5 separate regions of the Homo sapiens genome follow, and regions 1, 3, 4 and 5 are each linked to region 2. The links are contacts of gene promoters, found by promoter capture Hi-C in blood cells and fetal thymus (Javierre and others, 2016). All regions are on one chromosome and are shown on one strand. Each heading gives the region's core, a stretch centred on a gene start or on the middle of the fragment in contact. The rest is flanking DNA. Distances are from core to core; before and after follow the strand shown. Region 1 holds the start of CLEC2B (C-type lectin domain family 2 member B). Region 2 holds the start of KLRB1 (killer cell lectin like receptor B1). Region 3 overlaps LOC105369649 (a long non-coding RNA gene). Region 4 has its middle 24 kb from the start of CLEC2A. Region 5 has its middle 40 kb from the start of LINC02367.

Region 1 (2,700 bases), core at 1-2,500, 260 kb after region 2:
ATACTGAATATATTATTCAGTAACTTTTAAAATATATTCATATGTAATATGATATATAATATTGTATTATATAATGTATTTATATACAAATGTATAAATTTATACAATTGATTGAAAGTAGAAAATAACACTGGTTTTACTAGTGGCTGGAAGGCCTTCTTAAAACTTTTGATTAAAATGATATTTTATGCTACCATCAAATATTGATCTCATTCCCCGCAAACCTGTTTTATCTAACTTTAGGCAGAATTATAAAACCGGTTAAAATACGGGAGGAAGGATAAAGTGTGCATTCTATTGTACCACAGCAATAATTTTTTTGACCGTAGCATACGCTGGTAGGTTGACATTTAGTTAAACGGGAAATGCTTAAAGCTCATCACAGTCCCTAAATCTCTAAATCATAGATCGTTGTATTGAATGCATTTAGTTTCAGCCTTTTCTCTTTCAAATATTTTGACATAAATAAACCCTGTTGAAATCTCAAAGATGTAGCTTGGATCTTATATATTCCGAACTTGCTATTTAATAAATCCAATGTTACCAGGTTGTTTCATAGTGTATTTTTTAGAACATTTTCTTTCCTTATCCTTCTTAGGGTTGGTAAAGACATCTCCATGGATATCGGAGTACTAGCAATTCCTTAGTAAGAGTAGGAAAGGGATATATTCTTTCCGTTAAGTACTCCTAAAGCCCGGAGTATCTTTACACCATCCAATAAAGCAATCTTTAAAAATATTAGAACTATTGGCTAAATTTATCATATTATGTATGCATTCTGAGAACTGTATGAGTATCTGGATCATATCTATCATCTTCTCAAGTATTTGTTTTATAAAATACTTAGTAAAAATGAAACTAAATCTTGAGCAGTTTTAAGTCATGGTTAATCCTTCTCCATTGTAATTCAAATAATGTAAAGTAAGTCTGAATTTATTAGGACAAAACAGTCATATGCAAATCTCAATCTTGTTATAAGAAGGAATTTTCTAGTTTCACAAAAGAAACCACAAAATTTAATTCTTTTCTCGAAGGCTTTAACATTCTGCATCACAATTTCAATAAATAACGGTCATTCTAAACAAACAAAAATGTTCTTACCGTGCTTCTTTTAATCAGCGTTTTGATTTTCTGCTAGCAGCTTTGTGTCATGTCTTGCAGAAACTCTCTTCAAAGTTGTAACTTTATTTAACTTTAATATAAAAATGTTACTCTTGTTTTTACAGCACAGCTCCAAACTAGAGGTATACCACTTTTGAAGAGTAACTCAAAGTATAAATAGCATTTTGCAAACTGGAAGTAACCATGTGACTATCTATTAGTCATACTGTTGTTTATTACAATTTTCTTCTCGTCAAAAAAGAAAGCTTGCCAAGGAGGAAGGAAGTTTGTGATATAACAATTTAAAGCTGAAGAATAAACACATATTTTCTTACTTTCTCAACTGGGATTCTCATCTGAACCACAGAACACGAAATTGCTCAAGTGGCTGTTTTTCTGATTCATCCAGGAGTGGTACTTAACCACGTATCCTTCCAGAACTGTAGGAGAGGCTGATACTAATTAATTCAACAGCATTCTTTAGGACATTACTGCTTTCTTATCCTGTGTTAAGAAAGATCACCTTAAAAGCGATAGAATCAAAGAAAAAGCAATGGTTTAAACTTTGGCTACTGAAAGAAAAACAAAAACTATTATCTCTCTCTCAAAGACAAATGCGTGCAAAGTCACACGTGTGGGTGTGAGCACACACACAAACACACACAAAGACACACAGAGGGAAAAAAGAAAACGAAAGTAACAAAGTGCCCAGAACGTTATCATCAGCATACAAGATGACACCATTATGCTTTTGCTAAGTTACCAGGCCACAATTTTGTCTTCAAATCTGCTCTAATCAGTTTCCCAGTGATTTTGTATTACCCCTCAACAAATATATTAGGGAGGAAACTGAGGAGAAGAAGCCAGTGTCCCGCAAGCGGCTTCGGGATTAACACTGCATTTGTTCTGAGAGAGAAACTTGAAGAGGAAAAGCAAATGAGAATAGAGAAGAAACTGTAGTACAAAGGAATTAAAACAAAGAAAATATGAAGAGAATAAGAAATACAGGTTTAATCATTTCTGGGCAGAAGGAAAGGACAGATAACAAAATTGCTCTTTTCATTTTTGGACAGAAAAAAAAGACAGAAAATTCATGAGGAAATGAATATATTCTACCTTTGTTGTTAACAAAAGATTGTATCCAAAGAACTATTAGAAAAGCATGTATAGAAAAATATAGAGATTACTCAAGTATGGTTGAGTGAAATTTAGTTTTGTTCCAAAAAGGAAAACAGTCAAGATACAACAGTTAAGATATAAAACATTTTCAACACAGGGAAATGTTCCCCGCTGTTGCTTTGCAGTTCATCCTCACCCCTGAAGCCAGGCAGCAGCCAACTTACTGTCAATAAACATGAGCTTTGCTGGTTTTAGAAATTCCTGTTAAGCAGAATGATACAGTTGGCAATTCTTGTAAGTCTGATGTCTTTCACTGAGCATAATGTTTTTGAGTTTTATCCATGTTTTTGCACAGATCAGCAGTTAATTTCTTTTTATTACTGAGTAGTATTTCATTGTACAGACATAAAATATTTTTATCTATTTTATAATAAAATGTATCCATTATGACATTGAGCTTTTTCCACTTCTTGGATATCA
Region 2 (2,700 bases), core at 147-2,646:
TACTTTTCAAACTAGAAACTATCAGGTAGTAATGATATTCAAATCTTTGATCTTGAATATGATTTTTTTTCCAGAAAGTGTTCCCCTCTCTTGAGAGAGTGAAGTATGTTACTCATTAAGCCTACACTTTATATATATATATATAAAATATATAAAATATATGTATAAAAAGTATATATATATATATAAAATATATAAAATATATGTATAAAAAGTATATATATATATATATATATATATATTTTTTTTTTTTTTTTGAGATAGTCTTGCTGTGTCACCCAGGCTGGAGTACAGTGGCACAATTACAGCTCACTGCAGCCTTGATCTCTTGGGCTCAAGCAATCCTCTCACCTCAGCCTCCCGAGTAGCTAGGACCACAGGCACGTGCCCCACACTTGGCTATTTTTTTGTATTGTTTGTAGAGATGAGGTTTTGCCACATTGCCCAGGCTGGCCTTAAACTCCTGGACTCAAGCAAATCACCTTAGCCTACCAAAGTGTTGGGATTACAGGCATGAGCCACTGCAACTGGCCTACACGTTGTATTCTGAAAGGAATATTATGGATGAAAATGCACTGGGACTTAATCATAGTATTGATATTTTGTAGAGGAATTTGGAATAACGTAGGTTGTTATTACAGCAAGTTTGCAATGTGTCTTAAATATTCCTTAGTTCATACATGTAAAATATTTTTCCTTCCTTCCTTCCATCCTTCCTTCCTTCCTCCTTCTCTTTTTCTTTCTTTCCTTTCCTTTCTCTCTCTTTCTTTTTCTTTCTCTCCTTTCTTTCTTTCTTCTTTTCTTTCTCTTTCTTTCCTTTCTTTCTTTCTTTCTTCCTTTCTTTCTTTCTTTCTTTCTTTCTTTCTTTCTTTCTTTCTTTCTTTCTTTTCTTTCTTTCTTTCTTTCTTCCTTCTTTCCATCCCTGTAGAGCAGGGGTAACCAATAGGCAGTGTGCCCAGGGTAGCCTAAAGTGTTCAGAGTCTTTTAACCAAGGCTCAGTAAGACAAGTGATGTTTGCTTTTCATGCTAACTTGATTGAAAAAAATAAATGTATGAGGTTTAAATTTTTTTTCCCAAAGTTGTGATTATCTACAGGCAAGCCATGCAACACCCGTTAAACATTAATATAAAACTACTGCTCATCTTTAAAGCAATGATTTAAAGCCATAAATGTAACAGGAAGATCTAATTCTGGAAGACATACAAATGCCGAAAGGAAAATTAAAGCCACTTACCCCGAGGAAGAGATGAAGGTGAAGAACTTTCTGGGCCTGAGTCTGTGGGTAAGTTTAACTCAGCATATATTGCTTGTTGGTCCATGGCAGACAGAGGAAGGTGGCATTAAACTTGTGTGTAAGAACAAACTCTCAATTCTGTGAGGCAAAATCAGCAAAAGGAAGCTTTCTGCCTGCAGTACTTTGTTGTCTCTCTTTTGTCCCCACCCACATACACTTTTTGTTGGTGGTTATCTCCATAAATTACTGAGACAATCCACTGACTGCATGTTCATTATACCTAGCTATGTAATATCTACTTTCCTTAATTAACTGGCCTGTTGTTTGAGAAAATTCTGGGAGGCTCATTTGTTCTTGTTTTTCTAACCATCCCTTTTGTGTTCCTCTCTCAGGGCCAGGACCAGAGTGAAGCAAATGAGGCATAGCCTGGGGTTCCAATTTAAGGGGCCCCCAACAAAACTCACTAATTAACAGAAATAATATTTAGCACAATTTTGTAAAAGTAAAAATTAATGCAAAAAAGTCCATAATGCTATTCAAAGGCTCTAAAATCTTCCTGAAATATCTGTGCTCCAAAGAAAGTTGTGAAATGTGAAAAATGGAAACATAAATGTGAGAAAGCCCCCTGAATAACACAACAGAAAAAGCAATGTGCTAAAGATCAGTAGCCTACTGTTAGCTTAGCTCTAAAGGCACTCTTGGATATGATAGCATTTTCACATAAGTAAAAGTATTTGGAAACTGCCAGAATTGTAGGAAGTGGAGTATATGGAATTTTTTATCTCTTTGAAAGACTTTCTTTTTTTTTCAAGGTGATTATAGTATGTGTCTACTTTTTTTTTTTTACCTTTTTTTATTATTATTATACTTTAAGTTCACAATGTACAGGTTTGTTACATATGTATACATGTGCCATGTTGGTGTGCTGCACCCGTTAACTTGTCATTTACATTAGGTATATCTCCTAATGCTATCCCTCCCCCCTCCCCCCACCCCACGACAGGCCCCGGTGTGTGGTGTTCCCCTCCCTGTGTCCAAATATTCTCATTGTTCAATTCCAACCTATGAGTGAGAACATGCGGTGTTTGGTTTTCTGTCCTTGCAATAGTTTGCTCAGAATGATGGTTTCCAGCTTCATCCATGTCCCTACAAAGGACATGAACTCATCCTTTTTTATGGCTGCATACTATTCCATGGTGCATATGTGCCATATATTCTTAATCCAGTCTATCATTGATAGACATTTGGGATGGTTCACGAGTCTTTGCTATTGTGAATAGTGCCACAATAAACATATGTGTGCATGTGTCTTTATAGCAGCGTGATTTATAATCCTTTGGGTATATACCCAGTAATGAGATGGCTGGGTCAAATTCTAGTTCTAGTCCCTCGAGGAATCGCCACACTGTCTTCCACAATGGTTGAACTAGTTTAGAGTCCCACCAACAGTGTAAAAGTGTTCCTA
Region 3 (2,834 bases), core at 78-2,577, 260 kb before region 2:
ACTCCTTTACTCAAGCTTACCACCCGGCACCCTCGGTCTCAGCTGACACCTCTGCCATACATGTCATTAGGAAGCTTGAAGCCATCCCTAGCCTTACCCATCCCCAGTCTTTCTCTTGCTGCCCTGCATGTGGTGTTCCTCCTCTTTTCAAGACAAAGCTGCTCACCTGAATTTCCCTTCCTCAGCTCCTGCCACCTTCAAGACCACGCTCTGTCAGTTATCATCTCTCTCCTAAATTTTTAACTTCTCTCTTTTTCCTCTGCCAGATGCATAACCAAGTCTGTCAGATTAACCTATAAGCTCCTTTTCAACCCATTTCACCATCTGGTCATAGCCCAGTTTTAGCTTGCCCCATTGCTTTACTCAGGACATCCCCAAATCTGCTGTTCTCACCGCTCCCCTGACAAAAACTTTCATCTGAGATGAGTCTTTCTGTGTAGATGGAGCTATCACGTATTTTGTTATAACCTGACAGCATTGTGAACAGGGCCAGTTGCTTGGCAGGGCTAGAGAACACTCTTGTAGAAAGGGATAGATAGATGAGCACACACCTGCTGGCCCACGGGTGATCTGCTCTAGGGAGGTGGTGGTCATCTGATGCACTCCATTTGCAGTTCAGCCCATGTGTGGAGTCATCTTCTCCTGCCAACATTCCCAAGAGGGCTCACCACTCACCTTCAGAGTCAAGCAGTTGTGGATGGAAATTGACAGGAGTAAGTAAGCATTCCATCAATATTTGACAATCACTAGGCTAAGTGCCAGGTTTATAACAATGAATAGGACAGGTGGGATGTCTCCCATGCAGTTTACTGTTTGCCCACGAGCCTTTCCCCCATTTTCTACCTCCAGTGGCCTTGGTGCTCTGGGGCCTATTCTATGCCTCCACTGTCACTGGCTCTATGTGTTTGCTCTCTGCAGCTAGCCTTCCTGCTGTTGACAGTGTCCTCCCTTGTCATCACAGTTGATTGACCCAGAAGCTCTGACTGGAGCAGGGAGGGCTTGGAGGGTCAGAAAAAATACTATTAATTATAGAGAGGGTTAAATTGTTTGCTCAGTGTCATTCAGTCAGTACCAGAGATAAAAACTCCCCAAATCCCTCAGATTAGGTCAAATCCTGCCATAGGCACCTATAGTACCTTGCACCTCTTTTTTTTTTGTAACAATCATCACTCTTGTAGCTATTTGTTTAGTGCCTGTGTTCACCGGAGTCCAGGCTCTACTAGAGCTGGTATCACATCTATCCTTTTCACTGTGCATCTAGCACACTCTTGGTATAGATTGCTGGACAAAAATATTTGATTTTATTTTAGATTTTTAGGCACCTTGAAATTTTTAGTTAACTGTTTTTTAAAGCGGTTTCCTAAATCTGCAACCATTTCCCTTGCATAAAATGGGTTTTTGAGTCAGGAGATCAGGCACTACTGCAAAAAAGGGCCTAGGATCCAAGGCAGATTTAGGGAGAAGGAAATGTTCTAAACAAAAACAAAAACCAGTGGAGCCAGAGGTGTGGATAAGGTATACGATAAGCTGTGTGGACTCAGAGGTCCTGGGTGTGTAATAACACAAGATTTCCTCCCCACGGCACACAGCTGCTTGTGCTCAAGTCCTGCCAGTTGACAGAAAGCTCCCTTGTCTTGTGACTACTGCATTAGGCAGAAGGAGCAAAGAAAGGGCACAACGGACCACGGGCAAGGTAAGGAGGGAAAGACAGTTGCTTTGAAAAGTCACCAGCAGCCGAGGATCAAGGCCCTTTCAGACCTGGCCCTACATGTTGGGGAGGTACTTGAGAGCATCCTTTAGGAGGAGGCAGTAGGGGGCCAATGAGATTTTGAGGACAGAGCAGCTGCTCACACTAGAGAGGCCAGAAATCCTGAGGTTGGACAGAATTTGCTATTGTTTGGATGGTGCTTCTTGAATTTTTATTCTTTTTTCCCCTAGGGATATGGCTGCTGTATATTGTTAATGATCAGCTGGTTTGGTTTCTGAGTACTTTCAGGGTGCCAAGGCTTTGTATGGGTTCCTCAGTTGCAAATAGGTTCATGCAGTGACTTCCCCAGACACTGCTTCTTGTGATATAGTTTTGTTTGAGGTGTAATTTAGGCTGCAGTCTAGTAGATGGCATTTAAGAGTAAGAACTGGCAGGTAGGGGTGGGGACAGAGGCAATGGAGAAGTGTGTGTTTGGGATTTAAAGAACCTCAAGAAACTGTGATATTATGAAATATATATCTGGTCTTCATCTTGATTCCTGGCATAAAACTCCTATAATTCTTGGAATCCAAAATTTTAAATCTAAATTGCGACTGTAAGAAAATAACGTGGTGCTGCCTTGTGCTGCCTTTCATTCTAAATGGATTTTGGGTGACAAGGTTTAACAGAGTAGAATCACAGGAATGATTTTCTAATTTCTCAAAGTGAGATAGTTTTTATCTTGGACCCCCCAAACATTGAAGAACCCTTTCTTATGTGGATTTCTAAATAGTGTACAGCACAGTAGTAGGGTTTATTTCCTAAATGGTAAAACAAAATCACAGAGAATCTGAGTAACCTTGGATTTTCCTGCTTTAGCCACTTGGCAGAGACTAAGCTTTCTAAGCCAAGGAACCAGACAATCACAGCGTTATTGGGTAAACTGTAGCTGACCTTGTGTAAGCCTTCTCTGGGGTAACATATGACCATGATTTATAAGTTTCTCCCACTATCACCGACACATATTTTTCTGCTTTTTTGGTGTGTTTTCTGTTGTCCTCTTTACAAAAAAGCTAAAGGCTTTTTTTGAGAGACAGTACCAGGTATTTACTATGGCTGAATGCATCATACCTAACATCACTACATA
Region 4 (2,700 bases), core at 52-2,551, 300 kb after region 2:
TTTGGAGCTTCTGCTTAGTTTGAGGCAAAGGTAAGGATCTGATTCCTTCTACTTGTTCGGGTCCCATCCTTCATTTGCCTTTACTTATTAAGTGCCCTAAATATGTAACTTCACGTTCTACAAACTTGAGTTTTCCTTTTGAAACTCATAGTCCTTCCCCTTGTAAATGGTTAAGAAGGTGTGTAGAGAAGGCAGCTACTTTCTCTACATTTTCACCAGATATGAGAAGATCATCCACATATTGGAGCAGACATATGTGTTTTGGGGTATGAATTTATTCTGAAACCTGTTCTAAATTTGGCCAAAAAGGCTAGGGGAATCTGTGAACCCTTGGGGCAAAACTATCCATCAGTACTGTTGTTTCTGTCCAGAATAAGGATCTTCCCATTCGAAAGCAAATATGTCCCGACTGTCCTCAGCCAAAGGACAGGCCCAAAAGGTATCTTTTAAGTGTATTACTGTAAACCATTGATGGTCACGTGGGATTTTGCTGAGGATGGTGTAAGGGTTAGGGACAAAAGGATAAGTCATCTGGACTAATTGGTTGACAGCTCTGAGGTCTTGTGCTAGTCGGTATGACCTGTCTGATTTCTTTACAGGCAGTATTGGGGTGTTAAAAGAGGACATGCAGGGTTCAAGAAGCCCGTCTTGAATGACGCTTTAAATTACGGGCCTCAAGCTTATTCTGCCTTCTAGGGGAATGGGATATTGTTTTCTTCTTACTACCTCCCCAGCAGTTTTCAGCTTTATGTGTTTTGGAAGGACTTGAGGTCTTCCTTGATTTTCTTCTCTTGACCAGACATCAGGATGGATGTGTCTTTCACCCACACTGGTAAGTAGGTTTAGTGAGGTGAGGAATCCCTCTGGGCCAACATGTAAGCTGATGCTTAGTTCTAGCATTAAGTCCCTTCCTAACAGGTTAATTTCTGCTTCCAGGATTAATAGAAGCTTCATATGAGTTGATCGGTTTTTATACTGACTTCTGTTTCTTCTAAGATTTTAGCTTTAAATCCTTCTCCCTTTACCCCTGAGACAGAAAGTTCTGAGGAGCAGGTGATATCAGATGGAGGGAAACAGAGGAGCGGGCTGCTCCTGAATCTACTAAAAACGTTATGAGTTCATATTTGGGTCCCACCTCTAAGTTTATCAAGGGCTCTTGGTGGGACTTGAGATAAAAGAGACAGAGCCCCTGGCCCCCCCTATTCTTCCTCAAAAGTCATGAGTGGAAGGACTTCTTTTTATTTTTCCCATGCGGGACATTCCCTCTTAAAGAGACCTGTTCTTCCACATTTAAAACATCTATTCTGTCTTTTCTCTGTTTTGGGATTCTTTGGCTTGGCCCCCCTGTGTTCTTTATAGGGTCTGGCAAATGAGGTCCCGGATCCTTTAATAGGGGGCTTGAAGCCTCTAAATGGAGGTTTGGGTCATTTATAGATTTTGGCCCCCTGGGGGCTTTGTTTAGAAATGTATTGATTTGGAGCCCCCTGTTGATAGGTGGATAGCATGAATTTTGCTTTCACTTTTTGCTTTTCTTCGTATCTTCTCACATATACCTTTTGAGTTTCTCTGAGAAATTCACTTAGAGGATGATCTTTCCAATCCTCTATCTTTTGTAATTTCTTGGAAATGTCTGCCCAACTATTAGTAAAAAAATGAAGCTTTAACATTCCTTGTCCTAGGGGATCTTATAAATCTAGGCCTGCTTATTTTTTCATTTGCTCCTTTAATCTGTTTAAGAATTCTATAGGCTCTTCATCCTTCCCCTGTTGTGTGCTGAGTGTCTGAGACAGAGTCTGAGTCCAGGGTACTTATTCTTGAGTTCTTTTTATCATCATCTCCCTCAGGTCTTGCAGGTTTTTCCAGTGAGCTATGTTGTTATTGTCCCACCAGGGATCTTGGGCACGGAATTCCTCGTCTGCTGTAGAAACGTTTTAACTGGGGGGTGTTCATGTTCTCAAACTACCATAGTGGCCCTAAGGATCATGCCCCTTTCTCTCCCTGAAAACAGGATGCCCAGGATGGGCATTAACTCAGCCCAAGTATATAACTGGGGTCCTAGAAATTGATCACCGACCTGATCTGCCACTCGATGAGGGTCATCTCACAGCGGCTTGAGTTCTTTTTTAAAGCCTGGAACTTCTGAACTGGTTAGAGGAGCATTTATGAAGCTGATGGCACCCCCTCCCTGCAGCACCTCTTTTAAGGGGCAGAGAGTCAGAGCTGATTCCCCAGGGATAGGGGATAAAGGGAAGTTTTGAATATCCTTTTTACATTGCTCTACCTCACGTTGGAGTCCTTTTAGAGAAGAGTATTTAGGCTGGTAAGGAGCTGGCTCATGGGATGATAATTCCCAAGAATTGGGGTTGTAAGGGGTGGGGAACAATGTGAGCAGGGGAGGGATCTGGAGTGGGGTCTGAGGTGGCAACAGCTGCTTGAGGGGGAGAATTGGGGGTATTGAGTGGAGGAAGATGGTCTAGGGGATCCCATGTGTTGATGGGCTGTCTAGGAATAGGGACCTTTTCTCTTTCAGAGCAGTAAGATTCTAGCTTGCTCCCTCTGATTTTTAGAGGGTAAAGGAGGACAGGTCCTTGCCTCCAACAAAGAGCATACTCTATATCCTCCAGAGACACAGGGCTTTTGTCATTAATATGTTCCATTAAAAGTTAACAAATCCATTCTTCACTGGACCCAAATTTTGGC
Region 5 (2,773 bases), core at 144-2,643, 280 kb before region 2:
GATTTTCGCATGTCTTTTGGATGCCTTATCGGCGGCCTTTTCAGTTGCCTGAGCTGCCCGTTTTCGCTTTTCAAACTCTCGATTGTCAAAAACTTTCTGGGCTATCTCTAGAAGTTGGCTAATGTTCATTCCAGCAAATCCTTCCAGTTTTTGTAATTTTCTTTTAATATCAGGGCCTGCCTGAGCCACAAATGCCAAATTAATAGCACAGCTATTCTCGGGAGCCGCCGGGTCAAAAGGGGTGTAACTCCGGTAGGCCTCCTGGAGGCGTTCCAAAAACGCCCCCGGTGGCTCATCAGGTCCCTGGACAACTTCAAATGTCTTAGACAAATTTATGGGTTTTCGAGCAGCTCCTTTGATACCCGCAAGGAGATACTGGTGAAAATCATCTAAAGCTCTCTTCCTGCCTGAGGAGTTTGGATCCTAATTAGGCCGGGTAGAGGGAAAACCTCCTCTAGGAGGTTATGAGCTTCCTCCTCTGGTCTACCGTCTGATGTAAGGAAATATTTTCTGGCCTCTCTTCGGGTACGTTCCTTCTCTTCAGAGGTGGAAAGGGTTAAAAGGAGCTGTTGACAGTCCTCCCAGGTGGGCCGGTGAGTCCGGAGCATGGACTCCATCAGTGAGGTCAAGACCTGGGGCATTTCAGAAAAGGGGGGGTTATGAGTCTTCCAGTTGTACAGGTCAGAAGTAGAGAAGCGGACATAAACTAAGAATGGGCCTGAGTGCTTATCGCCCGGAGGGACTTGTGCCTCCTCAGCGGGAGGAGGGGGGCTACCTCCTCCTGCCGTGGCCGCGATCAGGAGGCAATAGGTGGAGAGCCCACAGGGGAGGTAGTGCAGGAGACAAGAGAACATTCTGAGGGAGCAGGAGGGTTATAAGGCGGTGGAACTGGGTGAAGGAAACTTTCCTCTTCCTCACAAGGAGGCAATACAGGAGGAGCCGAGCCGGCTGAGGGTCGAGGCGAAAGTGAGGTCTGGCTCAAAAGGACCTTGGAGGTAGAATTATGAATGGCGCATGAGCGGAGCCGTGGAGGAGGGCTCCGGACCAAACTCAGCCATTGATCAATGTAGGGAAACTGATCGGGGTGACCGGGAGTTCCAGCAACAACCCGCCACACAGTCTGAACAATTGCGAGGTTCAGTGACCCTTCTGGGGGCGGGGGTGCACCTGACTCTAAACTTTGGCCATTCTACTCCACAGAGTGTCCAGAGTTTGCCTTTTTTAAGGCGGAGCCTATAATCCTCTGAGAAGCCTAGAGAGAAATTTTGTAACATACATTGGAGAGGGCTCCAAGCTTTATGAGGCCAGGAAGAAGAGTTTCCTATTCTGGAGGCAGTTTAACAAGGTTTGAGCAGAGATATTAAACTTAGCATGGACAGAGAAATTCATGACCTAGGGGGGCTGTAGTATCAGAAGAACAGAAATAACATAACCAGAAGGAGTGGCAAAACAGCTATAACCAACACTTCCTGCCGCATAAGGTTTGTCTTCTTAAGCTTTGAGACTTAGGGAGAGGACACGTGGCAGGTCTGAGGCCCGTGGGACCTATGTGACTTCCCTCTCCCCTTTGACTTATAACCTAAATATCTTTGGTGTCTCCACGACTCAAAGGCAAAGAGTTCAGACTTGGCCCTTTCTTTTAAGGGTTTGAGGAGGGAGAGAAGAGCCAAGTCTTGGAGGCGCTGGACTTGCTGCGACACAGGAAAACGAGATGTGCAGGGCAAGGGATGGCGATGAGGAGGAAAGGGGCCACTTGGATCTTTCCTAAGGTAGGAGAGTAGTCACAGAGGATAAGAGTCCAGCTGGAGTGAAGCAGTACGGGGGTAGTCCTTCTATTTTAGGGTTGCCAGATAAAATACAGTATGCAAAATCAATGTGCATTGGAGAAAATAATTTATTATTAGAGAATACGTAATTTCTTTAGCATAAATATGTCTTGTGCCATTCTTAGTTTGGGACATACTTATGCTAAAAAATTATTTGTTCTTTATCTGGAATTCAGAATTAACTAGGCATTTTATATTTTTATTTGCTAACTCTGGCTACCTTATTCTCTTCTTAATATTCTTCAACTCTCCTAGCTTTGCCCTCCTTCCCTGCCCCCTCTTCTAGGGGAGTCGGATCGAGTTGTAAGGAGAACATGCCCTCCCCTCCTCTTCCCTTCCCTTCCCTCCCCTTCCCTTCCCTTCCTTCCTTTTCCCAGTTTCTATATACTGTATTAGTCACTAATCTAAGTGTTCTAGGTACAACAAACAAAACCACATCAAAATAATCCACAGCTCCCCACTGCTCTCAGAGGCCTACATGCTGGTGGGAGAGATGGCAATTAAACAAGATTAGTAAGTAGGGTAGAGAATATTAGAGAGGAAGATGTCCTGAGAAGAAGAAATAAATCAGGAAGAGGATATGAAGTGCTGGGGAGTGTTGAAATTTTAGATGGGGTGGGGCTTGACAAAGCCTCCCTGAGAAGGTGTCTTCCGAGGAAAGGCTTGCAAGGAAGGGAGGGTAGGTGTTTGGGGGAAGAGCATCTAGACAAAAAAAGACAAGTACAGTGCAAGGTTCTGGAGGCAGGCGCGCACTTGGCTGCTGTGTTTGAAAATGAGGGCGGTGCGGCTGCAGGGGAGAGGACGGGGGGTGGACAAGAACTATGGGGTGGCCAGGTCCTATGGGGCTGTGGGAAGGACCTTGAACTTTACTCTGAGGAGCATGGGAGCCATCGCAGAGTATTGAGCAGAAGAGTGGCATGACCTGGCTGGATTCTTTCATAGAGTCC

The links. The method cuts DNA at HindIII sites, captures the fragments that hold promoters and counts their contacts. A CHiCAGO score of 5 or more calls a contact.
Region 1: the fragment with the promoter of CLEC2B here is called in contact with the fragment with the promoter of KLRB1 in region 2 in 4 of 17 cell types (naive B cells, naive CD4 T cells, non-activated CD4 T cells and 1 more); the score reaches 6.3 in naive B cells.
Region 3: a contact is called between a fragment that was not itself captured here and the fragment with the promoter of KLRB1 in region 2, in 7 of 17 cell types (M0 macrophages, M2 macrophages, M1 macrophages and 4 more). The highest score is 7.5, in M0 macrophages.
Region 4: a contact is called between a fragment that was not itself captured here and the fragment with the promoter of KLRB1 in region 2, in 3 of 17 cell types (total CD4 T cells, naive B cells and naive CD4 T cells). The highest score is 5.3, in total CD4 T cells.
Region 5: a fragment that was not itself captured here is called in contact with the fragment with the promoter of KLRB1 in region 2 in 7 of 17 cell types (M0 macrophages, M1 macrophages, naive B cells and 4 more); the score reaches 8.1 in M0 macrophages.

The regions. Positions count from the first base shown.
Region 1 is chr12:9,868,104-9,870,803 of GRCh38, forward strand. It overlaps CLEC2B (C-type lectin domain family 2 member B), which reads right to left and starts at 1,251. Exons shown (of 5, transcript NM_005127.3): 1 at 1,102-1,251. The HindIII fragment of the contact is 5,556 bases long and covers 1-1,365 here.
Region 2 is chr12:9,606,520-9,609,219 of GRCh38, forward strand. KLRB1 (killer cell lectin like receptor B1) reads right to left here and starts at 1,397. Exons shown (of 6, transcript NM_002258.3): 1 at 1,236-1,397. The coding sequence starts at 1,320. The HindIII fragment of the contact is 4,730 bases long and covers 1-1,398 here.
Region 3 is chr12:9,342,128-9,344,961 of GRCh38, forward strand. It overlaps LOC105369649 (a long non-coding RNA gene), which reads right to left. Exons shown (of 3, transcript XR_007063205.1): 2 at 552-675. Among named protein-coding and RNA genes, the nearest start is that of LINC02367, 24 kb to the right of the region's middle. The HindIII fragment of the contact is 2,511 bases long and covers 73-2,583 here.
Region 4 is chr12:9,907,430-9,910,129 of GRCh38, forward strand. It overlaps a transcript of CLEC2A not described here. Among named protein-coding and RNA genes, the nearest start is that of CLEC2A, 24 kb to the right of the region's middle. The HindIII fragment of the contact is 710 bases long and covers 947-1,656 here.
Region 5 is chr12:9,326,025-9,328,797 of GRCh38, forward strand. No RefSeq gene overlaps it. Among named protein-coding and RNA genes, the nearest start is that of LINC02367, 40 kb to the right of the region's middle. The HindIII fragment of the contact is 202 bases long and covers 1,293-1,494 here.